Regions from separate parts of the Homo sapiens genome. Here regions 1, 2, 4, 5, 6 and 7 are each linked to region 3. Evidence: promoter capture Hi-C in 16 types of primary human blood cells and fetal thymus (Javierre and others, 2016). All regions are on one chromosome and are shown on one strand. The core of a region is centred on a gene start or on the middle of the fragment in contact, and the rest is flanking DNA. Distances in the headings are between cores, read along the strand shown.

The links. Contacts are between HindIII fragments. The CHiCAGO score rates a contact against its expected background, and 5 or more counts as called.
Region 1: the fragment with the promoter of STX4 here is called in contact with the fragment with the promoter of COX6A2 in region 3 in 9 of 17 cell types (M0 macrophages, megakaryocytes, total CD8 T cells and 6 more); the score reaches 10.1 in M0 macrophages.
Region 2: a contact is called between a fragment that was not itself captured here and the fragment with the promoter of COX6A2 in region 3, in 6 of 17 cell types (M0 macrophages, naive CD4 T cells, M1 macrophages and 3 more). The highest score is 10.4, in M0 macrophages.
Region 4: a fragment that was not itself captured here is called in contact with the fragment with the promoter of COX6A2 in region 3 in 16 of 17 cell types (total CD8 T cells, naive CD8 T cells, M1 macrophages and 13 more); the score reaches 14.4 in total CD8 T cells.
Region 5: the fragment with the promoter of PRSS53 here is called in contact with the fragment with the promoter of COX6A2 in region 3 in 2 of 17 cell types (monocytes and megakaryocytes); the score reaches 7.3 in monocytes.
Region 6: the fragment with the promoter of BCKDK here is called in contact with the fragment with the promoter of COX6A2 in region 3 in 4 of 17 cell types (monocytes, M0 macrophages, megakaryocytes and 1 more); the score reaches 7.8 in monocytes.
Region 7: a fragment that was not itself captured here is called in contact with the fragment with the promoter of COX6A2 in region 3 in 1 of 17 cell types (erythroblasts); the score reaches 5.6 in erythroblasts.

Annotation. Positions count from the first base shown.
Region 1 is chr16:31,031,069-31,035,110 of GRCh38, forward strand. It overlaps STX4 (syntaxin 4), which reads left to right and starts at 2,490. Exons shown (of 11, transcript NM_004604.5): 1 at 2,490-2,767; 2 at 2,945-3,046; 3 at 3,158-3,257; 4 at 3,394-3,468; 5 at 3,902-3,972. The coding sequence starts at 2,738. RefSeq lists enhancers at 1,814-2,325, 2,838-3,348. The HindIII fragment of the contact is 4,602 bases long and covers 1,061-4,042 here.
Region 2 is chr16:31,124,034-31,127,911 of GRCh38, forward strand. It overlaps KAT8 (lysine acetyltransferase 8), which reads left to right. Exons shown (of 11, transcript NM_032188.3): 4 at 3,002-3,055; 5 at 3,156-3,320. Among named protein-coding and RNA genes, the nearest start is that of KAT8, 8.3 kb to the left of the region's middle. The HindIII fragment of the contact is 7,764 bases long and covers 1-3,878 here.
Region 3 is chr16:31,426,722-31,430,516 of GRCh38, forward strand. COX6A2 (cytochrome c oxidase subunit 6A2) reads right to left here and starts at 1,639. Exons shown (of 3, transcript NM_005205.4): 1 at 1,532-1,639; 2 at 1,294-1,430; 3 at 1,010-1,136. The coding sequence starts at 1,604. The coding sequence ends at 1,053. The HindIII fragment of the contact is 1,386 bases long and covers 1,014-2,399 here.
Region 4 is chr16:31,069,631-31,073,428 of GRCh38, forward strand. The region is part of intron 1 of ZNF668 (zinc finger protein 668); the gene reads right to left. It also overlaps a transcript of ZNF646 not described here. Among named protein-coding and RNA genes, the nearest start is that of ZNF668, 2.7 kb to the right of the region's middle. RefSeq lists enhancers at 3,486-3,798, 3,578-3,798 and a silencer at 3,761-3,798. The HindIII fragment of the contact is 265 bases long and covers 2,176-2,440 here.
Region 5 is chr16:31,086,744-31,090,809 of GRCh38, forward strand. It overlaps PRSS53 (serine protease 53), which reads right to left and starts at 2,200. Exons shown (of 11, transcript NM_001039503.3): 1 at 2,009-2,200; 2 at 1,063-1,083; 3 at 794-956; 4 at 1-155. The coding sequence starts at 2,066. RefSeq lists an enhancer at 1,877-2,377. The HindIII fragment of the contact is 23,145 bases long and covers 1-4,066 here.
Region 6 is chr16:31,105,902-31,109,856 of GRCh38, forward strand. BCKDK (branched chain keto acid dehydrogenase kinase) reads left to right here and starts at 2,485. Exons shown (of 12, transcript NM_005881.4): 1 at 2,485-2,578; 2 at 3,146-3,517; 3 at 3,610-3,678; 4 at 3,772-3,882. The coding sequence starts at 3,323. RefSeq lists enhancers at 1-601, 2,209-3,102, 3,103-3,955 and a silencer at 2,338-2,877. The HindIII fragment of the contact is 13,040 bases long and covers 1-3,955 here.
Region 7 is chr16:31,726,937-31,730,737 of GRCh38, forward strand. The region is part of intron 3 of KRABD5 (KRAB domain containing 5); the gene reads left to right. Among named protein-coding and RNA genes, the nearest start is that of KRABD5, 16 kb to the left of the region's middle. The HindIII fragment of the contact is 8,496 bases long and covers 1-3,801 here.

The DNA.
Region 1 (4,042 bases), core at 1,240-3,739, 390 kb before region 3:
AAAAAAAAAAAAAAAAAAAAGCCCAGAGGGGAGGGTACCCTCAACAGTTTTCCAGCCCCTTCCACATCCTTCCTAACCTCACTTGATAGTGTTCAAGTCCTACCTTAGGCAAGGCAGAAATTATAGGACCAAGCCGCCAAATGGGGAAATTGAGTCCCAGAGAGAAGTAATGCATTATTTAAGATCCCATGCAGGACTATGAGTCAGGGGTCCAAGAGCCCTTCCACCGTGTGCCACTCAGAGACACAGAGTAGGAGGGGGAAGGGGGTCGGGTGGCAGGGGACAAAAGATGCAGGAGGCAAGCAGCAGTGACTGAAGAGGCAGAGGCTGACATGAAAGACCCAGGAGCAGAGAATCTTTCCTTATCATCTCCAGGGGACACCACTGGGCAGGGCTTGGCCTCCGGAAAAACCCTGCATTCCCTCTGTGGGTTCATCAGGGCACCACTCTCCTACTAGCTGGGTTTTTTTTTTTTGTTTTGTTTTGTTTTTGAGACAGAGTCTTACTCTGTCACCTAGGCTGGAGTGCAATGGCGTGATCTCAGCTCACTGTAACCTCCACCTCCCATGTTCAAGCAATCCTCCTGTCTCAGCCTCCCAAGTAGCTGGGATTACAGGCACCTGCCATCATGCCTGGCTAATTTTTGTATGTTTGTAGAGACAGGGTTTCGCCATGTTGGCCAGGCTGGTCTCCAACTCCTGGCCTCAGGTGATCTGCCTGCCTCAGCCTCCCAAAGTGCTGGGATTACAGGCATGAGCCACCACACCCTGCCTGAGCTGGGTTTTAACAGGAAGAGGAGAAGAGCCAAAACTCCTCACATAGAATCACACAGCACTTGACAGTTTCCAACCTCATCATCACTGAAGTTTAGAGCAGCCGATACCCATAAAGATGATCTCCCCATCCCCCTACAGTTACCCACTGTGCAGAGGGAGATCCACACTTAGAGACAGGAAGCGATTTCCAGAAGTCCATAGCAACTCAGTCCCAGGAATCTAGGTTTCCTGACCAGGGCATAGCAGAAAGGGTCCATTCCTTTCCTTGCTTGTACCTTCACAGAAGCTTCCTGGACAGAGCCCTGGGGTCCAGGAGACCTGTTATTCATTCCCGGCTATGCTGAGACTTGCTGAGTGACCTTGGGGACTCCTTCTAGAGAATATAAGTTCCACGAGTGCAGGAATTTTTGTCTATTAGTCCTTGATGTATCTCCAGCCCTAGAACAGTGTTTGGCCCATACTATGTGCCCAAAAAATATCCATTAAATGACTGAATGTTGCTGTGCATGGTGGTGCATGCCTGTAATCCCAGCACTTTGGGAAGCTGAGGCAGAAGGATTGCTTAAGCCCAGGAGTTAGAGACCAGCTTGGACAACATAGTGAGACCGCATCTCGTAAAAATTTTTAAAAATAAAAAATGAGTGAATATCTAGATAGCCAGGATTAGAGAAGTGTCACAGTCAGAAAGCCTGAAGCCTAAAGAAGACCAAGGAACCAGGGGCTTTATCCTCAGATACATGAAAGCCTGAAATTCTGTCCACAAGTATTTATAGAGGGCCCGTAATGTTCTTGGTACTGGGCTAGGAACTCCCCAGATTCAGTTAAGAACAAAGTCATTACCTGGCCTCAGATGCAAGGCAGGGGCTGGGGGGTGTGAGTGGCAGGGAGGCAGCGTGATCAATACAAACACTTTTCTTAGCCTGAGCTGCCCTGACATGGTCTGACGGCTCACAAGGTGGTGAGTGCAGCCGGGCTGCAGTGTTCAAGGAGGGCGCCGGCTGGCCGCCCACCTGTCAGAGGCTGCGCCAGAAGGATGCGGAAGAAGAGATTTCTGCCTTGGCTGAGGTCACTTCCCACCCCCAGATTCCCTGCCCACACAACCCTGCAATTTTCTGACGCTGACGACTCGGATCCTATTATTTCCCGATTTTCAAGGTCCCATGATGCTGACAGCCCCAAATGCTAAGTCGTCAGTCCGCCCACGCCCTGGACCCGAAAGCAATAAAGGCGAGGTCAGCAAGGGTCCTACCACCCACTGCCTCGAAAGGCCTCTGGGGGTGGTCGGCGCGCCCCTCCCCACCTCGCGGGGGCCGTGTGGGCGTCGCTCGGTCGTTGGGGTGCCGGGGACGTCGTGATGAGAACGGCGTCCCAGAGACGGCGGTGACAGAGCCGGGACACGTGACAGTCACAGGGTCACATTCTGCGGTCCACGAGTTTGGGACCGGGCTGGTCACGTGACGCGGTGGGGGCACCATGGGGTGATGTGAGATGCGGGTGTCTCGGATTACGTACAAATGACGTATTCCTACCCCTTTTGGCAACCAGATTTCCGTTGGAAGATGCAACGGTTCCGGTGACGGTAGCAAGTTCTCGCGTCCAGGCATCTCCGCTTCCGCTCGGGGCGCAACAACTTCCGACTCCACCTTCCCAGCCTCGGGCAAGGAAGAGACGCGACCATGTGCGCATGCCCCGAATTTATCACGGAGGGGCGGGGCTGAGGCTGCGGGAGCTGGAGCGGGGAAGAAAAGGGAATTCCAACCTGTGGAACCTTGGGGGGTCCCCGGGGTCGGCGCCTTCCCATTGACTGTGGGCGGTGCAAGGGACGGAGCCTCTGGCGGCTCGTGGGGGTGTTGGGGTCCGCAGGGGGAGGGAGGGGAGTGTCAGAGTGTGAGCGGGGTACGGGAATTCCAAATTTGAGGGCCTCCCGGCTCTGGCGCCGGGGAGGGAGAGCTCAGGCCGCCATGCGGGACAGGACCCACGAGCTGAGACAGGTGAGACGCCAGGGCAGCGGGGATGGGGACGGGCGGACGAACTGGAACGCAGGACTTCTGGTCTTCGGGATAGGGAGGGGTGGCTGATGGCCAGGAAGGAAAGTCCCGGAAGCCTGTGGGTCCTGCGGGGTAAGAGCCGCAGCGAAACGGTGGTGCCAATGACTCCGGGCCTGGCAGGGGGATGACAGCTCGGACGAAGAGGACAAGGAGCGGGTCGCGCTGGTGGTGCACCCGGGCACGGCACGGCTGGGGAGCCCGGACGAGGAGTTCTTCCACAAGGTAAGGGGCTGGGGTCTCCGCCTGGATTCGCGAGGGTGTAGGAGGACCCGAGGAGTAGCGTGGTCTGGAGTACCCCATATCTCTTTCAGCCCTCTCGGTCACCCTCCCCAGGTCCGGACAATTCGGCAGACTATTGTCAAACTGGGGAATAAAGTCCAGGAGTTGGAGAAACAGCAGGTCACCATCCTGGCCACGCCCCTTCCCGAGGAGAGTGAGTGAAACCCCGGCTGCAGGGCGCATGCTCCGCCCCAGGGATTGTGGGGGTTGTAGTTCCACGCAGGTGGTGGCCAGAGTGGTTTGTTGAGGTGGGGGCTGCTGTTTGGGAGTCTTGGCCTTCTCTTATTCAGGCATGAAGCAGGAGCTGCAGAACCTGCGCGATGAGATCAAACAGCTGGGGAGGGAGATCCGCCTGCAGCTGAAGGGTGAGCTCCTGGGACCTCAGACAGATCCTTCCCTCTGATCCTGCCCTGTTGTTGGTATATCTGGGGAGTGTGTGGCCCAGAGAAGCCAGTGATATATCCAGGTCACACAGCAGGCCTGGGTCTAGCATCTGTCTCCTGGCCTCCAGGCCATTGTACTCTCCACAGCACAAGTCCGCCTCTCAGGTTCTTTTATTTACAATGAAACCATTTACTTACACAGTTATCGCTGCCCACTGGGCATTCTTTGGGCAGGGAGATGGAGTTTTGTTAGGTGGCCTCTGCATACCTATGGGAACTCAGTGATGTAATGCAAAGAAAAATAAACTTACTTTCTCCTCTTAGAGGCTCAGCCTTAGTCATTTTATGATAAATTATATTTCCCTAAAAATCCTATGGAGACAAGTACCCCCAATACCCCTGTGTCTTCCCACAGCCATAGAGCCCCAGAAGGAGGAAGCTGATGAGAACTATAACTCCGTCAACACAAGAATGAGAAAAACCCAGGTGGGTTTTTTTTCTCAGAAATGAGGACATTTCAGCAAATGTTTCATGAAGTATTAGATGACAGGTGTAT
Region 2 (3,878 bases), core at 883-3,382, 300 kb before region 3:
AATTCTAAATAAATTGCAACAATTAAGAAAAGTAGTGTTTTTGTAGTTCTTTATTGCATTTGCAGAAGAGTACTGTATTTTGTGAGAATTGGGAAATGTGTTTTAAAGAGATGTGTGAGGAGGAAAATCTTTCTTCCTCATCTTTACAGTGGTTAGGTTCAGAATTGGACAGACCAGGGGCCCATGCCCAACTCTGCTGAGTACCAGTTCTGTGACCTTGGGCAAGTGACCTCACCTCTTTGTGCCTCAGTTTTCTCTCATACAACAGGGACAATGAGCACTCTTATTTCAAAGGCTCATTGTGAGGAACAAAATGAAATAATGTCGGCTGGGTGCAGTGGCTCATGCCTGTAATCCCAGCACTCTGGGAAGCTGAGATGATTGGATCATTTGAGGTCAGGAGTTCGAGATCAGCCTGGCCAATATGGTGAAAGCCCGTCTCTACTAAAAATACAAAAAGAGGCCAGGCGCAGGCAGACCACGAGGTCAGGAGTTGGAGGCCAGCATGGCCAACATGGTGAAACCCTGTCTTTACTAAAGATACAAAAAATTAGCTGGGTGTGATGGTGCACACCTGTAATCCCAGCTACTTGGGAGGCTGGGGCAGGAGAATCGCTTGAACCCAGGAGGCGAGGTTGCAGTGACGTGAGATTTTGCCATTGCACTCCAGCCTGGGCGACAGGGCGAGGCTCCATTTCAAAAAAAAAAAAAAAAAAAAGGCTATGGCTCATGCCTGTAATCCCAGCACTTTGAGAGGCCAAGGTGGGTGGATCATCTGAAGGTCAGAAGTTCAAGACCAGCCTGGCCAACATGGTGAAACCCCATCTCTACCAAAAATACAAAAAATTAGCCGGGCTTGCTGGTGGGCGCCTGTAATCCCAGCTGCTTGGGACACTGAGGTGGGAAGATCGCTTGAACTCAGGAGGTGGAGGTTGTAGTGAGCCAAGATTGCACCATTGCTCCAGCCTGGGCAACAAGAGCAAAATTTCATCTCAAAAAACAAAATAAATTAGCTGGGAATGGTAGCAGGCACATGTAGTCTCAGCCACTTGGGAGGCTGACGTAGGAGAATCACTTAAGCCCAGAAGGCAGAGGTTGTGGTGAGCTGAGATCTCCCCACTGCACTCCAGCCTGGGCGACAGAGTGAGAGTCTATCTCAGAAGAAAAAAAAAAAAACATGTCTGTGCCGTGCTTGCCACTTGGAATAAATGGCAGCTCACTAGTCCCCGAGGGTAAGGGACCTCACCTTGCCCTGCCTGTTTACTACTCTGTAAAATTGAAATAACGCAGCTGGGTGCAGTGGCTCACGCCTGTAATCTCAGCACTTTGGGAGTGCGAGGCTGGTTGATCACCTGAGGTCAGGAGTTTGAGAACAGCCTGGCCAACATGGCGAAACTCCATTGCTACTAAACATACAAAAATTACCTGGATGTGGCGGCATGTGCCTGTAGTCCCAGCTACTTGGGAGGCTGAGGCAGGAGAATTGCTTGAACCTGGGAGGCGGAGGTTGCAGTGAGCCGAGATGGTGCCACTGTACTCCAGCCTGAGCAACAGAGTGAGACTCCGTCTCAAAAAAAAAAAAAAAAAAAAAAGAAATAACACTCTATGTAAGGGTTACTGAAAGGATTAAATGAGGCCATATAAACATATAGGCACAGTGCTTTGTGGAGGGGGTTCTGGGTAAAGCACTGGCTCCTTCCTCCCTTCTCAGCTACAGGGCAGGGCCTTGTCTGCCCTGGTGTAGGTCATGGACCGTCTTGGGTCCCCCTTCCATTGTCAGGCTGTACTGGGTTCCTCCCACAGGGTCTGGCCTAGGAGCAGGATGTGTTGTGAGTGTGGTGTGACTCTTAGTCTCTGCTTTCTAAGGACTTGAAAAATAGAGGAACCCAGGTGGGCATACTTGGACAGTGTTGCCCTGTTGACCACTTCTCGCTGAACTTGGGAAGGAGGGAATGTTTTCTGGATGGGAAGAATCCAGTCAGGCCTCCTGGAGGGGGTGGTAAGAATCTCAAGCCTTGAAGGATGGGAAAGAGCACAATAACAACAGTGACAAAGGATAGATCACAAAGCATCATGGACTCACCTGACTCATGCTCCGTGCCAGGCTGAGGAAGTGTTTTCTGCTGGCAGTGAGAGAAGGAAGGGCATTCTCCAGGTAGAAGGAGCTGTTTGTGCAGAAGCATGAAGGCCGCTAAAAGGGGGCTGCTGATAGCAATGAGGAGGCTGGGGCTGGAGGCAGGGAGTCTGAGGCGGCCTAGTAAATTGTCCAGACCTGAGATGGGGCCATGACTACCTGGAGCAGGACAGAGAGGAGAATTCCAGAGAGGGCCCAATTCCAGAGATGTCAGAAGTAGACTCGACATCCACTGTATTAGGACTTGGCCAGGCCGAGGGAGAGAGAGTAGTCTGAGGCAAGCCTAGTTATGGGTCTTGGACACTGGGACCAAGGGTGATGTTCCCAGTAAAATGAGCAACCCAGGAGGAGGCGCAGGTTTGCAGGGAGGAGTGATGAGGTCCTTTCTGCACATCTTGAGTCCGCTGTCCCTGTGGGAGGGACCTCTGGGGCAGTCGCATGGGCAGGCAGGGTCTGGTCCTCAGGAAAGGGGTCCAGGAACATCGGGGAGGTAGTAACAGTTCTTACGCTGGGCCTGGAAGGCAAATCTGTTATTTCATTTGAGTCTCACAACTTTGGCAGAGCTGGATTGCCCCCCATCGTGCAGCTGAAGCCCCATCCTGATCCTAACCCTGTTCATCTGGCAAAAGGTCCAAACTTGGACATCAGGGATGTCTGGGATATCGGGGGTGGGGCGGGTGGGTGTGAGAGGAGTCTGGACCAGCCAGCTTCAGAACCAAGTCAGATAGGTTAGCTATTGGTGTGGTTATTATTGCCATCCAGGAATGAGGTCTGGTAGACGGCAGGGAAGCCTTGTGGGTCCTGACGGGAGGGACAGCCTGGTCACCACTTCTGTTCACCTCTGCCCACTTTTCTTTCCTGGCCCAGACTTATGCAGAGATGGACCCCACCACAGCAGCCTTGGAGAAGGAGCATGAGGCGGTAAGTGGGGCTGGGAAGCTGCCTGCAGGTCCCCCGTCTCCCCTTGCCGAGGAGCCCCTGCTGAGCCGTGCACTGTGCCTCACTCCCACCCTGCCTGCAGATCACCAAGGTGAAGTATGTGGACAAGATCCACATCGGGAACTACGAAATTGATGCCTGGTATTTCTCACCATTCCCCGAAGACTATGGGAAACAGCCCAAGCTCTGGCTCTGCGAGTACTGCCTCAAGTACATGAAATATGAGAAGAGCTACCGCTTCCACTTGGTGAGGCTGGGCCGGCCGGGCCGAGCTGGGCAGGGGCCCGGTGAGAGGCAGAGGCAGGCATGGAGACTGAGGGCGGCTGCGCCGGCAGCTCCAGGGAGGAGACAGGCCCAAAGGAGCGAGTACAGGGAAGAGCTGCTGGGGGTCAGGAGGCCTGGATTCCAGGCCTGGCTTTGCTGTTGCTGGCAGGGTGACCTTGCCAACTTCAGACCTCAGCTCCTCTTCTCTGGAATGGGGACAGTAACTCACCCCCTTCAGGTCTTTTGCCAAGGCCAGCTCCATCCCAGGAAGCACACATAGCCCCTGGCAGTGGGACCTTAAGTGTGGATGAAATTGGGGGCTGTCAGGAAGGGGCGCTCTCATCACTGACACAGTGGGCTGCTTCCCGAAGTGTGGAATCTGAAGCGAATAGGTGTGGTTTAGGGAAGCCATTGTCATGGACGGGTCCCTCCAGAGCCAGGCCCACAGAGACTCAAAACCCCACCGTGCTGTGTGATGTTTGGATCTCTGTGCCTGGGCCTTGGTCTGTAAAAGCAGGATCACTTTCCTAAGGCTGCTGGG
Region 3 (3,795 bases), core at 389-2,888:
TCCAGAGCTCATTTGAACTCCTGTCCCCCTTGAATGAGGTACTCAGAAGCCAGGAGAGCCAGGCTAGGAGCATGTGATTTCCCATATAGAAGACTCATTAAGAAAGATTATAGGCCGGGCGCGGTGGCTCACGCCTGTAATCCCAGCACTTTGGGAGGCCGAGGCGGGTGGATCATGAGGTCAGGAGATCGAGACCATCCTGGCTAACAAGGTGAAACCCCGTCTCTACTAAAAATACAAAAAATTAGCCGGGCGCGGTGGCGGGCGCCTGTAGTCCCAGCTACTCAGGAGGCTGAGGCAGGAGAATGGCGTGAACCCGGGAAGCGGAGCTTGCAGTGAGCCGAGATTGCACCACTGCAGTCCGCAGTCCGGCCTGGGCGACAGAGCGAGACTCCGTCTCAAAAAAAAAAAAAAAAAAAGAAAGAAAGATTATAGAGAATTATCAAAAGATTCCAAATCCAGCATTAGGTCCCAAGGCCTCACACACAGGACTGTGGAGCCTCCGTCTGAAATCCAGAGAGCTGGGATTCACAGACACCAGCAGCTCAGGTGTCAGGCAAGAAGTGGGACTTCAGGATCTGCAGCCCTGGGCTCCCATGGGGGCTCTGCCGAGCTGCCGGAACTTGGACAAGTCATTTAATTCCCAAGAATCTCAGGTCTTCCTCGGGAGAAGGTGAACTAAATTTATACCCTGCTCCCAGCGTTACTGTGAGGATTCGGTGTACGCGGAAGCCCATTACAGCCTAGAGCCCTAATTATTAATAGGTGTGTGTGAGAGGGAGGCCTCATTATTACCAGGTGAGAGACAGGGAGCTGGGATCGCCTACCTGTGAGTGGAGGAGGCTCCCTCGAGCACCTCCGTATCAGCGGCGTGGGAAAAGCACGTGGAGCGCCCACCGCGCTAGGCGCATGCGCGGAGCAGGAGCGCTTACCAAGCTGGGCGCATGCGCGGAGCGGGCGCCTCTGGGCGCGCTCCCCGTGGCCCCGCCCTCCCCACAGAGCCGCAGACTCGAAGCTTCACACCTTTATTGTGTCCGGGGGCGTCCGGGGCCTCAGGGGTGTTCGTAGCCCGTGGGCAGAGGGTTCACGTGGCTATTGTGGAACAGAGTGTGGTTGCCGTCCCCCCAGGGGTAGGGCTGTGGAGAGAGCGGGGGAGGGAGCGCGCGTGAGCGCCGTGAGTCCGGAGTCCGCGCCCCGCGCGACCCCCCCCCCGCAGCACCCCCCCCCGCCCCCGCAGCACCCCCCCCCGCCCCCGCAGCACCCCCGTGCCGCCCGCGCGCCCGTCCCGCGTACCTTGGTGCGGATGCGGAGGTGTTGGTAGGGACGGAACTCGGGGCGCGGGCGGTGGCCCGAGTGGAGATAGGAGTTGAAGGTGCAGAGGGCCACGCTGGGCAGCGCCAGCACGAAGGTCAGCAGACGCCAGGTACGAGCTGCGGACGGAGCGGGGTGAGCGCGGCGGTCCTGGGGCGGCGGGCCTGTGAACAGGTGGGCAGGGTAGGGGAGCCCCCGGATCCGCCCGTTCCCCACTCACCTCCTGCTCCTCCGTGGCCTCCTTTGGCAGCGCTGGCCAAGCCCCGGGTCAGGGGCCTCAGAGGCAAAGCCATGATGGTGCGGGGAGCCGGGAACCAGCGCTGTCCTCGCTCCCTTTCCTGGGGCCTGGGGTCACCTCCCCTCTCTGGGCCAATCACCTGTTGAGTCTGGAGCACTGGCGGCTATTCTTAGGGGTTTCTATATTTAAAATGGGGCCTGACTGGCTTGAGGTCATCTCCAGACAGCTGTTGTCCTGTGCCTCTTATTTTGGCAAGGAGGCATTTAAGTACAATATGCCATTCTTTTTATATAGTTGCAGGGAAACTATTTTGTTCCCTATTCTATGCCTGGTGGCTGGCACACAGTTGGGCTTTAATAAATATTTGTAGAATGAATTAAGTGTCTTTTTGAGTCTCAGTGTTTTCAGCTGTAAAATGTATAATAATTCGTACCTTAAAAGATTTTTTAAATACTGGAGACGGGGATCTCACTATATTGTCCAGGCTGGTGTGGAACTCTTGAGCTCACGTGATCCTCCCGCCTCAGCCTCCCACAGTGCTGGGATTACAGGCATGAGCCACTACACGGCCCTTACATCATTTTTATGAAGTTTATGTAAGGTAGGAATGTGTCAACCTGGATTTTGGCAGGTAACAGTAGTTCAGTATATGTATTAGTCACAGTTCTTTGCAAAGAACAGAACTCACTCTTACTAGTTTTAGAAGATAAGTAATTGAGAATCTTAGGTAGCTTACTATGTCTGATATAGCCAGAGATGCCTACAGTCTGCACAGTCATAAACAAGTCATTCCGTTGGCCAGCTGCAGTGACACCCCCACAGCTCACACTGCTGGACCCTGGATGCCAAAAGCTTCATTAAGGCTGCCCTGGAAAACCAGAATTTTCCACCCTCATCCCCTCTTGAAAACAGATTCTTCATGAAACCTGTATCCTGGGTCGCTCTTTTCTGAAAGAATTATGTGATTGCACCAACTGGCAACCCCTAGGTCCCCCAGCTGCAGGAGGGGATGGGAAACTGAGCTCTGGATTCTGCCTTAGGGAGGCAGGAATTGTAGGGAAAATCTCCAGGTCTAGGATGAGTATTCAAAAGGTTCCAGGCAGCCACAAGCCTGACAGGTGTCTACTGCAAAGTGCATTATTTCAATCTGAAAAATATGACTACTTGGAGAAAGCAAGCCTAGACAGGGCTGGTGTGAACCCTCTATCAAAGCAGGTCACAAGAAAGCCACAAGACCAGGCAGGGATGACATCTGCCTGTTCTGTCCTCAGCAACGGGCAGGGACCTTGGCATGAAGGAGGTGTTCTAAAAATATGTATGTAATGAATGCTTGAACCTTGTTACTTTGGTTAACCCTACAACAATGCCTTTTCAGAATTACAATCCAATAGGAAGCTTCTAGCTTTGATCAAGGGCTGATGTACTAATATGAACTTAATATACAAAAGAAGAATGAATTATATAGACATATAATCTGAATTTAATATATAAAAAAAACGAGGAAGATATATTTTCAAGAAGGGGCTCTATACCTGTTTCTCATTGGTAATAAACTGAACAGTATGTTCCATCCAACTTTAAGCTGCTGCTATTTTTAAAAAAAATAACCTCCTTGAGCAGTCAAATGTTATACAGTGTTACAAAAATTATTCCTGAGCTCTCACTGAGCTATAATAGAATTCTTCCTACAGTTTTTTTCCCAGCTGGACTTTGGCATTGTTGCAGAGAAGATGGGGCCCTATTCCAGTTAAAGATACCTGGCATCTCCCTCTACACATAGCCCCCTCCCTACGTATATAAGATAATGGCTCCTGGAGAAAACAGACATGAAGACAGGTATTTTTACTTGACAAAGTTCTAGAGGCCTGGCATAGTGGCCCACGCTTGTAATCCCAGCACTTTTGGGAGAATGAGGAGGGCGGATCACTTGAGGTCAAGAGTTTGAGTCCTGCCTGGCCAACATGGTGAAACCCCATCTCTACTAAAAATGCAAAAATTAGCTGGGTGTGGTGGCCCGTGCCTGTAATCCCAGCTACTCGGGAGGCTGAGGCAGGAGAATCGCTTGATCCCAGGAGGTGGAGGTTGTAGTGAGCCAAGATTGTGCCACTGCACTTCAGCCTGGGTGACAGAGTAAGACTCTCTCAAGAAAAAAAAAAAGAAGGAAAAAAGGAAGAAAAGGTTCTAGGTTTCTTTTCTCCCCTAAAAGGCCCCTCAGAGTTTTTCTGGTTGCTGCCAAACAATTCCCT
Region 4 (3,798 bases), core at 1,058-3,557, 360 kb before region 3:
CCCCTGATAATCATTCTCTATCTACTCTTTATTATTATTATTATTTTTTGACGGAATCTCATGATTATCTATCAAGCAGTTCTCCTGCCTCAGCCTCCTAAGTAGCTGGGACTACAGGTGCCCGCCACCACGCCCGGCTATTTTTTTTTTTTTTTTTTTTTTGAGACGGAGTCTCACTCCGTCACCCAGGCTGGAGTGCAGTGGCACAATCCTGGCTCACTGCAAGCTCCGCCTCCCGGGTTCATGCCATTCTCCTGCCTTAGCCTCCTGAGTAGCTGGGACTACAGGTGCCCGCCACCACGCCCGGCTAATTTTTTGTATTTTTAGTAGAGACAGGGTCTCACTGTGTTAGCCAGGATGGTCTCAATCTCCTGACCTCGTGATCCACCTGCCTCGGCCTCCCAGAGTGCTGGGATTACAGGCGTGAGCCACTGCACCCGGCCCAATCCCGGCTAATTTTTGTATTTTTAGTAGAGATGGGGTTTCACCATGTTGGCCAGGATGGTCTCGATCTATTGACCTCGTGATCCGCCCGCCTCGGCCTCCCAGAGTGCTGGGATTACAGGTGTGAGCCACCGCGCCCGGCCCTTTTTTTGAGACGGAGTCTTACTCTGTCCCCCAGGCTGGAGTGCAATGGCACAATATCTGCTCACTGCAACCTCCGCCTCCCGGGTTCAAGCGGTTCTCCTGCCTCAGCTTCCCGAGTAGCTGGAATTATAGGCGCCCGCCACTACATCTGGCTCATTTTTGTATTTTTAGTAGAGAGAGGATTTCACCATGTTGGCCAGGCTGGTCTTGAACTCCTGACCTCAAGTGATCCACCCACCTTGGCTTCCCAAAGTGCTTGGATTACAGGCATGAGCCACCGCACCCAGCCCTCTTTACTTTTTAAAAAATGTTTTTATTTTTATTTATATATTTATTTTTGAGACAGAGTTTCACTCTTGTTGCCAAGGCTGGAGTGCAATGGCACCATCTCTGCTCACTCCAACCTCCGCCTCCCCGGTTCACGAGATTTTCCTGCCTCAGCCTCCCGAGTAGCTGGAATTACAGGCATCCACCACCACGCCTGGTTAATTTTTTGTATTTTTAGTAGAGATGGAGTTTCACCATGTTGGCCAGGCTGGTCTCGAACTCCTGACCTCAGATGATCCACTGCCTCGGCTTCCCAGAGTGCTGGGATTACAGGCATGAGCCACCGTGCCTGGCTTATTTTTATTTATTTTATTATTTATTGTTATTATTATTTGAGACAGAGTCTCCCTCTGTTGCCCAGGCTGGAGTGCAATGGTGTGATGTCAGTTCACTGCGACCTCTGCCTCCTGGGTTCAAGCAATTCTTCTGCCTCAGCCTCCCAAGTATTTGGGATTACAGGTGCCTGCCACCACAGCCAGCTAATTTTTTGTATTTTTAGTAGAGATGGCCATGTTGGCTAGGCTGGTCTGGAACTCCTGACCTCAGGTGATCCACCCACCTTGGCCTCCCAAAGTGCTGGGATTACAGGCTTGAGCCACCATGCCCGGCCTATTTATTTCATTTTTATTTATTTATTTTCTTTGAGAGAAAGTCTTTGTTGCCCAGGCTGGAGTGCAGTGGCTGCATCTCAGCTCACTGCAGCCTCCACCTCCCGGATTCAAGTGATTCTCCAGCCTCAGCCTCCCGAGTAGCTGGGACTACAGGCGAAAGCCATCACACCTGGCAAACTTTTGTATTTTTAGTAGAGACAGGGTTTCACCACATTGGCCACGCTGGTCTCGAACTCCTGACCTCAAGTGATCCGACCGCCTCAGCCTCCCAAAGTGCTGGGATTACAGGCGTGAGCCACCGTGCCTGGCCTTTATTTTTATTTAGAGATTGGGTCTCACTCTGTCACCCTGGAGTGCAGTGGCTCAATCATAGCTCACTTCAGCCTCAAACTCCTGCACTCAAGCAATCCTCCTGAGTAGCTAGGACTATAGGCACCCACCACCACACCTCGCTAATTTATTAAAAATTCTTTGTATATAGAGATGGAGGTCTCACTACGCTGCCGACAGTGGTCTCAAGAACTCCTGGCTTCAGATGCTCCTCCACTATGGCTTCCTAAAGTGCTGTGATTACAGGCATGAGCCACAGTGACCAGCACCCCTCCTCTCTAATTTCCTTTATGGTGTCATCTGGACAATACTCCTTGCAAGCTTACCATGGGCAAGGTATCATTCTAAGCATTTTGTGCATAATACTCAACTACTCAAGCCAACTGCACAGCTGCCTAGCAGTTCATTATGAGTGAATGTTTGTGTTCCCTGTCCATTCATATATTGAAATTCTAACTCTCATTGTGACTGTATTTGGAGACAAGGCCTTTATGGAAGTAATTAAGGCTGAATGACGTCATAAGGGTATGGCCCTGGTCCAGTAGGATTAGCGTTCTTATGAGAAGTGACACCACAAAGAAACAAGCTTACTAGTCACGGTCCCAGCCAGTGTTCAAATCCCAAACACCTGCTCTCTGAGCCCTGACTATTGCTTTGCTAGCATTACACATCTTATGGTTTGGCTGTTAATTCTTCATCACCAGCACCAGAGTCCAGGCTGGCAAAGGGCTAGGAAACCGATCATCTGCCTCCTCTACACCCAGAACCCTGTGTGGTGACCCAAAACAAATGGAAAGAACCAACCTCAGATGAAATTTGAACCCAGGTCTGTAGCCTCTGCCTCCTCCACAGTAGGAGTTTGTGAGAATGTCCACCAATAACTGTTTATTAACTAAATTCCTCCACCTTTCCAACTCCACAAGGCTCAACTATTGCCCCAATATCCCACAGTGGGCTCCCTGTCGTGGCGATGAAGCCTTGCTTTGCCTCACTACTGGCTTAGGAAGGGGATGAAGTTCTGCTGTCTCACTAGGCAAGCAAAGATTCAATTTCCAAAAATCCTAGGCTAGGACCCTGGGGCAGGGATGAGGAGAAAAAGGAGGCACCTCAATCTTCCCATCTCTAAACAAGCAGTCACCACACAGGCCTCACGGCCAGGAGTGACGTAGTGAGCGGATGAACCCTGCAGAAGTGAGCGCTAATCATATCCTAGGCCTCCTACCGGGCCAGTTCACAACCTGATCCCAACCTACTTTTCCAGCCTCAGCTCCAGCGACAGAGTCCTCCTCCCGGCAGCGACCGAACCTCCAGCCACAATTCTCAATCCTCCACCTCTAGATGCAGTTTCCTGGGCTCGGGGAGCCCTTGCCTGCCTTCTCCAACGGGAAAGCCCCTTTACATCCTTCAAGAACCCCCTTCCCTAGTGCCCTCAGGAATACTTTATGGCAGTAGAGAGGTAAGGGCCCCACGCCGCTCTGGACCTCAGTTTCCTCATCAGTAAAATGGGGTCCCTTAAGTTTGTGGGAGTTTGAAGGGCGGTGGGGCCTACGAAGCGCGCCGAGGAGCCGAGAGTTGCAGAAACCCGGAGCTCCTCGCTCCTCGCAACCGTCTGTACGCGGCGCCCCCGCCAGCCAGGCAGCCCCTGGAGGGCAGGACCCCGGTTATAAGCCTCAGAAAACGTGGCTTCGGAGGACGTGGCAAGGAGGACTGAACGAAGGATGAGGAGATGAACAAATGAATGGACGGAAGGCCGAATGAGGGACAAAGGCTTGCAAGATGGCGTTCTCTAGGACCGCGGGAGTGGTGGCCGGGCCTCAGCAGGGGAGGGGGCCGCCGGCGCCTGGGATCTTGCAGCGCGGGCCACGCGACCGGGACAAAAACCCAAAACATGGCGGGCTCTAGGACCCCCGGGACCACACCGCGCCGGGCCAGCAGCCGCGCG
Region 5 (4,066 bases), core at 950-3,449, 340 kb before region 3:
GCAGCAGGGCCAGGTCTGAGCCCTGGCTGTAGTGGTTATAGGCCCTGGGCAACTGCAGGGCAGCCACCCCCACCTCTTCGGCCCCAGGGCTGAGTCCCTCACGCTGCAGAGAACCCAGGACCACTGACCAGGAATTCAGTTCTGTTGCTGCTGCCCTGGAAGGGGAAGGACAAGGTCCAGGCTGCTGAGTGCAAGGGTAGACAGTGACACCATGGGAGACCCCACAGGTAGGTGGAAGATAGCAGAGAGCACTCCACGGCTTTTTCTTTTTGAGGTAGGGTCTCGTCCTGTCGCCCAGGCTGCAGTGCAGTGGCATGACCATGACTCACTACAAGCCTTGACCTCCCAGGCTCAAGCGATCCTCCCACCTCAGCCTCGTGAGTAGCTGGGACTACAGGCGTGCACCACCATGCCTGGCTAATTTTACAGTTTTTGTAGAGACATGGTCTTGCTATGTTGCACAGGCTAGTCTTGAACTCTTGGGCTCAAGCGATCCTCCCTCCGTGGCCTCCCAAAGGGCTGGGATTACAAGCGTGAGCTACTGTGCCCGGCCTCAGTCTGTGACTTTAAGCGAGGTCATTCCCTTGCAACCTGAGTTTTCTGATTTGTAAATCTTCTACCATGAAAGGTGGTTGTTACAATTAACTTGACAATATGTACCCAGTACATGGCAGATTCTCAGTAAATGGTTCTTTATTATTACTCTAGAGGCAGGGACTAGCCTTGTGGGGCTTGAGACAAATTGTCCACTCCCCAGAGCCGGAGACCCTGCCTGACCCCAGCCATGACTTACTTTTCAAAGCAGTGGGCAGCAGTGAGGACCCAGGTGTCTGCCACCAGGGAGCCGCTGCAGATGTGGGCTCCTTGCCTCCTCACACTGGCCTGCCAGGGCCACTCGCCAGGGACTGTGTTGCCCTCCTGAGGCTTGGGGGGGCCGGGGCCACGCTGTCCACAGGCTGTGGAAAGGAGTTAGTCACACTGACAGCAGATACCTGTCCTGACCTCACCCCAGTCCCAACCCAGACCCAAGTAAGACCTAGGCCCCGTGTCCCCAGACCTTACCACGCTGAGCGGCTTGAAGACCTGGGAAGAGAGAGACACAGGTAAGATGCAGGGACTCCAGGCCTGCCTAGCTTTGGGGAGGAGAGGGGATGGGCTGGGGGGCGGGCCCAGGGTCCTTGCCTGTGACTCTGATTACCTTACCAGCCCCTCCCAGAATGAAAATATTTATATGAGGCCGAGACAGCTTTTATTGGAACCTATTCAGTGTGCACACTCAGTAATTAATTCTCCTTCAGCTGTGCTCAGCACTCTGGGGCTTGGGGTTCAGCTTGGGAGTAGGCCAGCCCTCCTCCAGGCTTCAGAACCCCCAACTCCTGCCCCCGCCACTGAGTCAGCCAGGCGGCCTGTGTGTGTAGAGAGCATTAGCTTAATTGTCCTCTTAGCAGCAGAGGCCTAAGAGGAAGGATTAGAGGCCTGCATCATTTCCAAGTGGGGAGGGCCCCAAGAAATGGAGACTTACCTCACCCTGGTCTAGAGACTCAGTCTTCCCCACCTTCCCAGAAACTGTCTGAGAGCCCGCCAGAGAGAGGGCCCCTGCCCACCGCCCCTCACAGGCACACAGGCACCCCATGAGACAGCTGAGCCAGGCTGCCCAGAGGATGGATGAAAAGAAAGGGAAACTGAGGCCAGAGGAGCCCAGAGTTTGCCTGACGTCATTGTGGAAGTCGAGGGGGAGGCAGGCACAGGACACACGCAGGCAGCACCTCACACACACACAAGACCACAGGCCCCGCCAACGCAAACTGCAGCTGGCCCGAGAAAATCTCATCCATGTTGACACAGGTGGCCACATATACCACCCCACAGAGTCCTACGGAGTTACATCCCCACTGGTGGACTGTCGCCCACAGGCGGTCCCCCCACCAAGAAGCAGGGACTGCTGGGGCAGAGATGGCCCCTGAGCCCCCACCAGGCCACACCCATACCCCAGCACATGGCGGCTTACCCTCCATGAGGACTGTGGCACCCGCGATGAGCAGCACTGGGCCCCAGCACCACTTCATGCTGCCCCGGGCCACTCTGCCACCTGTGCTCCACTCTGAGAGAGGCCACCTGGGTCTCCCTGGCTCCACCTCTGCTCCACCTCCAGTTGGCTAGGATTCAGCTGTCTGCTTGCCCTAGCCAGCAGTTCCTAGCTCTGGGGCTGTGGCTGTGTGACCCTAGGCTTGTCACCACCCCTCTCTGGGCCTTAGCCGTGGAGCCAAATTGTCTGGGTTTAAATCTGTTTCCTTACTACTTGAGTGGCCTGGGAGAGCTAACCTGCCTGTGCCTTGTCTGAGAAACAGTTGTTGAATGGAAAACGTCTCAATGACAGCCTGGCACAGGGCAAGCTCACTCCCAGCATGAAAGTGCCATCCTGGAACCATGGAGGGCACGTGGGCAGCTCCTCCCAGTCCCCACTTTTCATTTCCACTCCCCCACTTCTCTTCCAGCCAGGGCTAGGTGGGTTTCACATGCCTTCTCCCAGGTCTGCTCAGAGACAGTGTGTGCCAGGCTGAGTGGTGAGGAGCCAGCACCCACTGCTGCTTGCTCGCTGTGAGCCTTTGGCAAATCCCAGTATCTCCCTGGGCCTGCTGGCTTCCTGGGAAACAGGGTGACAGCGGTGCCCACCTTCCTCATAGGCGCAGAGGACTCGGTCAGGCGGGAAGAACACTTTGGCGCGTGCCTCCTCTTCCTCTTCCCACTCCTAACTCAGGCTGGCCCAGACCATTCAAGAACCCTGACCCCAAGACAGAGGCAGCTGTGGGTAAGGTTTAGCATATATTATAGATGCTGGCCGGGCATGGTGGCTCACGCCTGTAATCCCAGCACTTTGGGAGGCCAAAGCAGGCAGATCACCTGAGGTCGGGAGTGCGAGACCAGCCTGACCAACATAGAGAAACACTGTCTCTACTAAAAATACAAAATTAGCCAGGCCTGGTGGCGCATGCCTGTAATCCCAGCTACTCGGGAGGCTGAGGCAGGAGAATCACTTGAACCTGGGAGGTGGAGGTTGTGGTGAGCCGAAATTGTGCCATTGCACTCCAGCCTGGACAACAAGAGCGAAAGTCCGTCTCAAAAACAAACCAACAAAAAAAAAAGCATATAGATGCTGGAGCCAGATGGACCAGGTGGATTCAAATCCTGAGAGCCTCCTGCAGTAGCTGTGTGATCTCAGGCATACTAATTAGCCACTCTGTCCCTATCATCAAGATAGGGATAATAATAGTACCCACCTCATAAATCACTGTAAAGATTAAACGAGTTTAACACGTTAACACAAGTTTTTTTTTGTTTTTTGTTTTTTTTTGGAGACGGTCTTGCTCTGTTGCTCAGGCTGGAGTGCAGTGATCATGGCTCACTGCAGCCTCAACCTTCTGGGCTCAAGCAGTCTTCCCGCCAGCTTCCCGATTAGTTGGGACTATAGGTACATACACCACCATGCCTGGCTAATTTTTTTTTTTTTTTTTTTTTGTAGAGACAGGGGTCTCACTATTTTGCCCAGGCTGGTCTGGAACTCCTGGCCTCAAGTGATCCTCCTGCCTTGGCCTCCCAAAGTACAGGGATTACAGGTGTGAGCCACTGCACCCTGCCAACACAAGTTCTTAAACAGTGCTTGGCATGTAGGTAAGTGGTCAGGGCATAATAGGCAAAACAAAAACCTTCACAACCTGGCCCTGACCCTCCAAGGCTACCAATACTGGCTTGGAATGGTCGATAAGGCAACTGGAGGGGTTAAAGTTAAACTCAAGGAAGAACTTCCCAGCAAGCATTTACAGAACCAGAAGGGCAGCCTGCCCTTCCAGGTGTGTGCTCAGCCTTCCCAGGAGAGGAGGCCTGGCTCCTGTGGGCAGCAGGAGCGAGCTGCCAGCCTGTTTCCTGGGGGTGGGGGCCAATGGTGCCCCAGGCCTTGCTGACTCCACACACTGGAGATGAGACTACCCATAACCACCCTTCCCAGCAGGCCCTCCACTCTCCCTCTGACTCACCCTTCCCAGCTCCAGAGAAGGCAACACCGAGGGAG
Region 6 (3,955 bases), core at 1,235-3,734, 320 kb before region 3:
CCGCAGCCTCCTCCGCCTGCGGCTCCTGTCCACGCCGCGGCCACGTGAGCGCCAGATTCTGGCGCACAGACCACTGCCAGTCCTTTGCTGCTTTGCGCAGCCTGTCCTCCCCGCCAGGAGCACCCTTCCCGCTCCCTTTTACCACGGGCTCCAGCCGTGGCTGCCTTGGGGCTGCCGCCGCCTGGCTGTACTCCAGGACGTTGGGAAAGAACGGGTGGGAATGGTGTGGGTGGGGGTCAAAGAGGAAACCCAGAGATGCAGGGCGCCCCTTTCCCGTGGTCTGCCCCCAATTGCTCAGGCAGGCCAGTCACGGTGAGGCGTCCTCCCTCCAAGTTTATATTTATTATTATTTATTATTTATTTTTTTCACCTTCAAGTTTATTATTTATTATTTATTTATTTATTTTTGAGACGGAGCCTCTCTCTGTCGCCCAGGCTGGAGTGCATTGGCACGATCTTGGCTCACTGCAACCTCCGCCTCCCGGGTTCAAGCGATTCTTCTGCCTCAGCCTCCCGAGTAGCAGGGATTACAGGTGCATGCCACCACATCCGGCTAATTTTTGTATTTTTAGTAAAGACAGAGTTTCACCATATTGGCCAGGCTGGTCTCGAACTCCTGACCTCAGGTCATCTGCCCGCCTTGGCCTCCCAAAGTGCTGGGATTACAAGCATGAGCCACTGCACCTGGCTAACCTCCAAGTTTAAAGACAGCCGCCAGGCCCAGTGGCTCACTCCTGTAACCCCAACAACTCAGGAGGCTGAGGCCAGGAATTTGAGACCAGCCTGGGCAACATAGCGAGACCCCGGCTCTAAGAAAAATAGGCCAGGCACGGTGGGTTACGTCTGTAATCCCAGCACTTTGGGAGGCTGTGGCAAAAGGATTGCCTGAGGGGGAAAAAATCACCCTGGGGGTAGTGGTGCACACTTACAGTCTCGGCTACTTGAGAGGCTGAGGTGGGAGGATCATTTAAGTCGGAGGCTGCAGTGAGCTACTATGGAGCGACTGTATTACAGCTTGAGCAACAGAGCGAGACCCCATCTCCAAATAAATAAATAAAGATAGCCTCCAAAGATGTCACTTGCTTCACTTAGCACTTTTTATTGAACATATTTAGGAAATATATAACCATGGTAAAGAAAATTGCAATTAGTACAAATACACACTACACACATATGCACGTGCACACACTGAAACGTGTCCCTTCCAGCGCCTCCTGCCTGGATAATTTTTTTTTTTTTTGCAACGGAGTTTTGCTCTTGTTGCCCAGGATGGAGAGCAGTGGCGGGATATCGGCTCACTGCAACCTCCTCCTCCCGGGTTCGAGCGATTCTCCTGCCTCAGCCTCGCGAGTAGCTGGGATTACAGGCGCCAGCCACAACACCCGGCTGATTTTTGTATTTTTAGTAGAGACGGGGTTTTGCCAAGTTGGCCAGGCTGGTCTGGAACTCCTGAGATCCGCCCACCTCGTCCTCTCAAAGTGCTGGGATTACAGGCCTGAGCCACTGCGCCTGGCCTAAAGTAATTGTCTTCTTATTGGTTTCTCTGCCTTTGGTCTCACCAAACGCCCCACTCTAAATCACTGCAGACAAGGGGTTCTGTCTAAGGAGGAGAGCCCACCAGTTAAAACCCTTCAGTAGTTCCTAACTACCCTAGGACAAATGCAGACTTATCCTTCGCTCTCTGCTGCCGCCCCTCTCCTTCCCAGATCCCATATGGCTCCAGCCATATCCTCAGACCATCTGGGCTGTTGTCTGTCCTGCCACACACCCTTCCCACCCCGCTCCCTTGCAAGTCCTACTCAGGCTGCACCTACACAGCTGTCTCAGTTTCTATCTGAGGCTCCCGCAGCCTCCTCTGAAAGTCCTCATCACAGCCAATGATACTGAAACTGTTTTCTTATGCAGGGCACGGAAAGATCTATTCAACTCACTGCCCAATCTCCTCTCCTGGTGCAGAAAAGACACCCAGTCAGCGACTTGCATTATCTGCAGGCATGAGTGAATAATAATAATGCCTAACCCTTATATAGTGCTAATTCCACGCCTGGCACTGTTCTAGGCACTCATATAAATTCATGTAATCCACACAACCCCAAAACTGATGATATCTCTTCATCTTACCAAGCACTGAGCAGTTAAATAACTTGCTCCAGATATTAAGGGGTCGAGCTGGGGTTTGAAGCCTGGTTACCCATAAATGAACCAAGAACTGGAAGGAGGACAAGAGCTCCGAGAAGGAGTCAGGTAGGGCGTGATCTGTGCGCTTTACATCTAAGATCTTCCAGCTCCCAGGGAGCCCGTTTCATAGAGCAGGAGATAGAGGCTGGGAGGGACACGGAGAGCCTCGAGAGCCGTGTGGAGGAAGCGGTGCTGTTTGGGGTCCGGGAGCAAGGGCGTGGCCTGGATGCGCGGGCGCCCGGGACGGCACGTCCTCAGACCAAACTACAACTCCCAGGACCCAGCGGGCGCTGCCGCCCACGCGACGTCACGGCGGCGGAGGGCGCAGGCGGCTGGGCGCCTGGCGAGTGGACTGTTCGAGCCCTTCCGCTGGGACCCGGGCCCTGGCTCCGGCCCCGCGGTAAGTGGGGCGACCCCAGCCTACTCAGTCCGCGGAGGCCCCGCGGCGCACGTCCGCAGCCTCCATCACAGCGCGGGCGCGCAGACGGGGCTGGCATCTACCATATGGGGGGCATCCGGGCCGAACCAAGTGACCCGCGTGGGGGGTCCCGCTGGGGACTCCGTGCCGCACCCTCCCAAGCCGGCCCCAGGGGCCCAGGGCTGGTGTCGCACGTTCGCTGGCCGCGCTCCCAGGGCCCGGGTTTGAAGGCGCTGGGCAGGCAGGGGCAGCCCCGCCCCCTGAGAAGGGTACCCGGGACCCCGGGGCGCTGGGGCGAGGTTTTCGGGCTGGAAGGGTCTGAGGGGCTCCTCCCCCGACAGCCCTCCCACCGCCAGTAGAGCCTCGGGTTGGGGAATAGAAGCCCCCGGGAGGCTAGGTCCTTTGGGCGCGGCCTGTGTGCATCTGGGGAGACGGTGGGAGTGGTGGGGAGAGGTCGCCCGGGTCTGGGGAGACCGATGCACAGGTGGAGAGATGGTGCGGGTTCTGTGGATTCGGATCCTTACAACTTCCTCTTCCCCGCCCCGGTAGATGGGAGCTGCTCTCCGCGGGCTGAGCCTGTCAGCATCCTCGACGCACCCTGGTCCCTGAAGTCGGAGAAGAGCCCCTACCCACCCACACCCCCTTGCCCCATTTTGGGTCGCCTGGGTCCTCAGTCCTAGCGGATCCTCAGTCCTAGCGGCCACCGGGTCTGAAAGGAGCAAGACGATGATCCTGGCGTCGGTGCTGAGGAGCGGTCCCGGGGGCGGGCTTCCGCTCCGGCCCCTCCTGGGACCCGCACTCGCGCTCCGGGCCCGCTCGACGTCGGCCACCGACACACACCACGTGGAGATGGCTCGGGAGCGCTCCAAGACCGTCACCTCCTTTTACAACCAGTCGGCCATCGACGCGGCAGCGGAGAAGGTGCGCAAGGGGGCAGCCAGCCCAGGGTCCGGGATGTAGGCGGGAGGGAGAGTGTTGGGGGTTCTCTGCTCAAGGCCTCTCTCCCTCTCTAGCCCTCAGTCCGCCTAACGCCCACCATGATGCTCTACGCTGGCCGCTCTCAGGACGGCAGCCACCTTCTGGTAAGATTCACGCCCTCTATTTTCCTCGTGGATCCTGGAGCTCTCCCAGACACTCAGGCTCCAGCCCCGCCTTCCCTTCTCATTTTCTCCCAGAAAAGTGCTCGGTACCTGCAGCAAGAACTTCCAGTGAGGATTGCTCACCGCATCAAGGGCTTCCGCTGCCTTCCTTTCATCATTGGCTGCAACCCCACCATACTGCACGTGGTAAGGTAGAGAGGACCTTAGGTCAGCGGGCCACCCTGCCCCGGGGGCAAGTGGGGAGTCTGGGGCCCAGAGT
Region 7 (3,801 bases), core at 217-2,716, 300 kb after region 3:
TGTGTCTTTTTCAATTGTATTCATCACTGTCTTACAGATTTTACTGAGCAGATCTTTCACCTCCTTTGTTAAATGGAATCATAAGAATTTTATACTTTTGATGCTATTATAAATTGGATTGTTTGCTTAACTTTTTTTCTCAGATCATTAATTGTTAGTATATAGAAATGCAACTAATTTTTGTATGGTAATTTTGTGACCTCAGCTTTACTGAATGAGTATTAGCTCTAACTCTTTTTGTATACTCTTTAGGGTTTTCTGTATATAAAATCACCTAATCTGCAAGCAGAGAAAATTACAATTCTTCGTTGCTGATATGAGTGCCTTTTATTTCTTTTTTTTACCTAATTGCTCTTGTTGCAGGGCAGGTGAGCCCCCAGATTGGGGCTTATCCTGGGAAGGTTCACGGCTTCACTCAGGAAGAATTCAAGTGCAAGATAGTGGTAGAAGAAAACAGCTTTATTGAGCTGGCAGTGTTGCAGCTCTATGACTGCTCCTGTGGAGCGAGGCTACCCTGTAGGCAGTGTGCTGAGAGGAGCAGTTCTGCAGTCATGTACTTATATACCCACTTTTCATTACATGCAAACTAAGGGGCAGTGTTTTTTCCCTTCAATTTTTTGGAAGAATTTGAGAAGGATGGACATTAATTCATCTTTAAATGTGTGATACAATTCACCCATGAATTCATTTGGTCATGGGCTTTTTCTCATTGGATTTTTTTATAACTGCTTCAATCTCCTTTCTTATTATTGGTCTGTTCAGTGTTTCTGTTTCTTTGTGATTTAATCTTGGTGAGTCATTCATTTCTAAGAATCTGTTTCTTCTAAGTTATCCAATTTGTTGTCATATAATTGTTCATAGTAGTCTCTTATTATTCTTTGTGTGTTGTCAGTTGTAATGACTCATCCTTCTTTCTTTTATGTATTTATTTATTTATTTATTTGAGACAGGGTCTCACTCTGATGTCCAAACCAAAGTGCAGTGGCATGATCATAACTCACTGCAGCCTCAACCTCCCAGGCTCATGTTATTCTCCCATCTCCCAAGTAGCTGGGACTACAGGGGTGTACCACCATGCTCAGCTAATTTTTGTATTTTTTAGAGAGAAGGGTTTCATTATGTTGCCCAGGCTGGTCTCCAAATCCTGGGCTCAAGTGATTTACCTGCCATGGCCTCCAAAAGCACTGGGATTACAAGCATGAGGAAGTGCACCCAGCCCACTTATAATTTTTTGAGTCCTCTCTCTTTTTGATCCTTTGCTTAATCTGGCCAAAAGTTTCTCAATTTTGTTTTCTTTGAAAAACTCAATTCAGTTTCTTTGATCTTTTCTATTGCCTTTCTAGTCTTTATTTAGTCTCTTTTTGTTCTAATTCTTACTATTTTCATAATTATGCTAACATTGGGATTATTTTGTTCATGTTCAAGTTTCTTGAGGAATTGAGTTAGATTGCTTATTCAACATCTTTTTTTTTCTTAATGTAGAACTTTATTATTATAAACTTCTGTACTAGAACTGTTTTGGTTGCATCACAGAAGTTTTGGTTTCTTGTGTTTCCAATTTCATTTGTCTCAGGATATGTTTAGATTTTTCTTTTGATTTCTTCTTCATCCTATTGATTTTTCAGGAGTGTGTTGTTTAATATTTACGTATTTGTGAATTTCCAGTTTTCTTTCTGCTATTGATTTTCAGTTTTATATCAGTGCAATCAGAAAAAAAAACTTGATATAATTTTAATCTTTATACATTTGAAAAGACTTACTGCTTTTTACTTTTGGTTTAACATGTGATCTGTCCTGGAGAATATTTCATGTATTCTTAGAAGACTGTATTCTCATATTGTTGGATGGGATGTTATATGTACATTTAGTCTATAGTGTTATAGTAGTGCACTGCTTTCTTAATTTTGTGCCTGAATGATCTATCCATTTTAAGTAGGGTACTAATGTTCTCTTTTGTTGTATTTCTGTATATTTCTCCTTCCAGTTCTGTTAATGTATGCTTTATATATTTAAGTATTCCAGTGTTGGGTGCATATATCTATTTAATTGCTCTATCCTCTAGACAAATTAACCTCTCTATTATTATATAGTTAACTCCTTTGTCTCTTGTGACAGATTTTGTCAGACAGCCTGTTTTGTCTAATGTAAGTATAGCTACCCCTGCCTGCACTCTTTTGTTTATCATTTGTATGGAATATCCTTTCCAGTTCTTTCACTGTTAGCTTATGTTTGTCCTTAAATCAAAAGTGAGTCTCTTGTAAGCAACCTGTCACTGGATTTTTAAAAATTCATTCAGCCACTGTCTGTTTTAAATCCATTTTGTGCTGCTATATCAGAATATTCACAGGGTATTTTATAATGAAATGGGTGATTTATAAGGAATACAAATTAATTTAGCCTGTGATTCTGGAGGCAGGGAAGGCAGAGAGCATGACACTGGCATCTGGTGAAGACCTTTTTGCTGCATAATAACATGGCCAAAGGCACGAGGGGGAGAGAGCTCCCTTTTATAACAAACGCACACTTGTGATAATTAACCCACTGCTGTGATAAGGACATTAATACATTCATGCAGGCAGAGCTCTCATGGCCTAATCACTTCTTAAAAGTCCCACTTCTTAATTCTATCACAGTGGCTATTAAATTTTAACCTAAATTTTGGAAGTGACATTCAGTCTTTATCAATGTCTGTTTATTGGATAATTTAATCTCTTTATATGTAATTATTGATAGGTAACTATTATAAGTTTGTTTTCTATTTTATACTTTGTTTCTTTTTTCCTCTTATGCTTTGGTCATGTTAATTTTTTGTCTTGTTTTTGTTGTTTTTATATACTTTGATTACTTTCTTTTTTTCTTGTATCTACTACAGTTTTTTTTTCTCTAGTGGTTATAAGACTTACATAAAACATCATATAACAGCCTAGTTTAAGATGATAATTATCCAACTTTTATGCATAGAAAAACTCTATGCTTTTCCTCCCCTTCACACATTTTATACTATATATGTCACATTTTAAAACTTTTTATATTTTGTATTCATTAACAAATTATCATAGCTATACTTTTAAAAAATAGTTTTGTTTTATAGTTCTTATACTAGAATTAAAAGTGACTTATGTACCACCATTACAATATTCGAGTATTCTGAATTTCACTATTTACCATTTCCAGTGATGTTTGTAGTTTTAATGTTTTCATATTTAGTTAGCATTTCATCACTTCAACTTGAGTAATTCCCTTTAGTCGTTTAGCATTTCTAGACAGGTCTAGTGGTGATGAATTCCTTTAATTTTTTTTTTGGTGGGGGGGTCTTGAAATGTCTTCATCTCTCTTTTATTTCTAAAAGATGCTTTGTTGTGTATAGCCTACTTAGTTGTCTTTTTTGTTTGTTTGTTTGTTTAATTTTCCTTCTTTCAGCACTTTTAATATATGGTATCACTCCCATTTGGCCTGTAAGGTTTCTGCTAAAAAATCTACTGATAACATTATAAAGTTTCCCTTGTATGTGAAGAATCTCTTATTTCATGCTGCTTTCATGATTCTTGCTTTGTCTTTGAATTTTGACAGTTTAATTATGATATGCCCCAGGGGAATCTTCATTAGGTTCTTCTTGCCATGGGTATTTTGAGCTTTATGAAACTTCTTGTTCATATCCTTTTCCAGATTTGGGGAGTTTTAAGACATTATATCTTTAATCTTTTTTCTTCTTTCTTTCTTCTTCTGAAAATCCTAAAATATGTATATTTGTTCACTTTATGATATACTATACAGGCTATATGCTTCCTTCATGCTTTCATA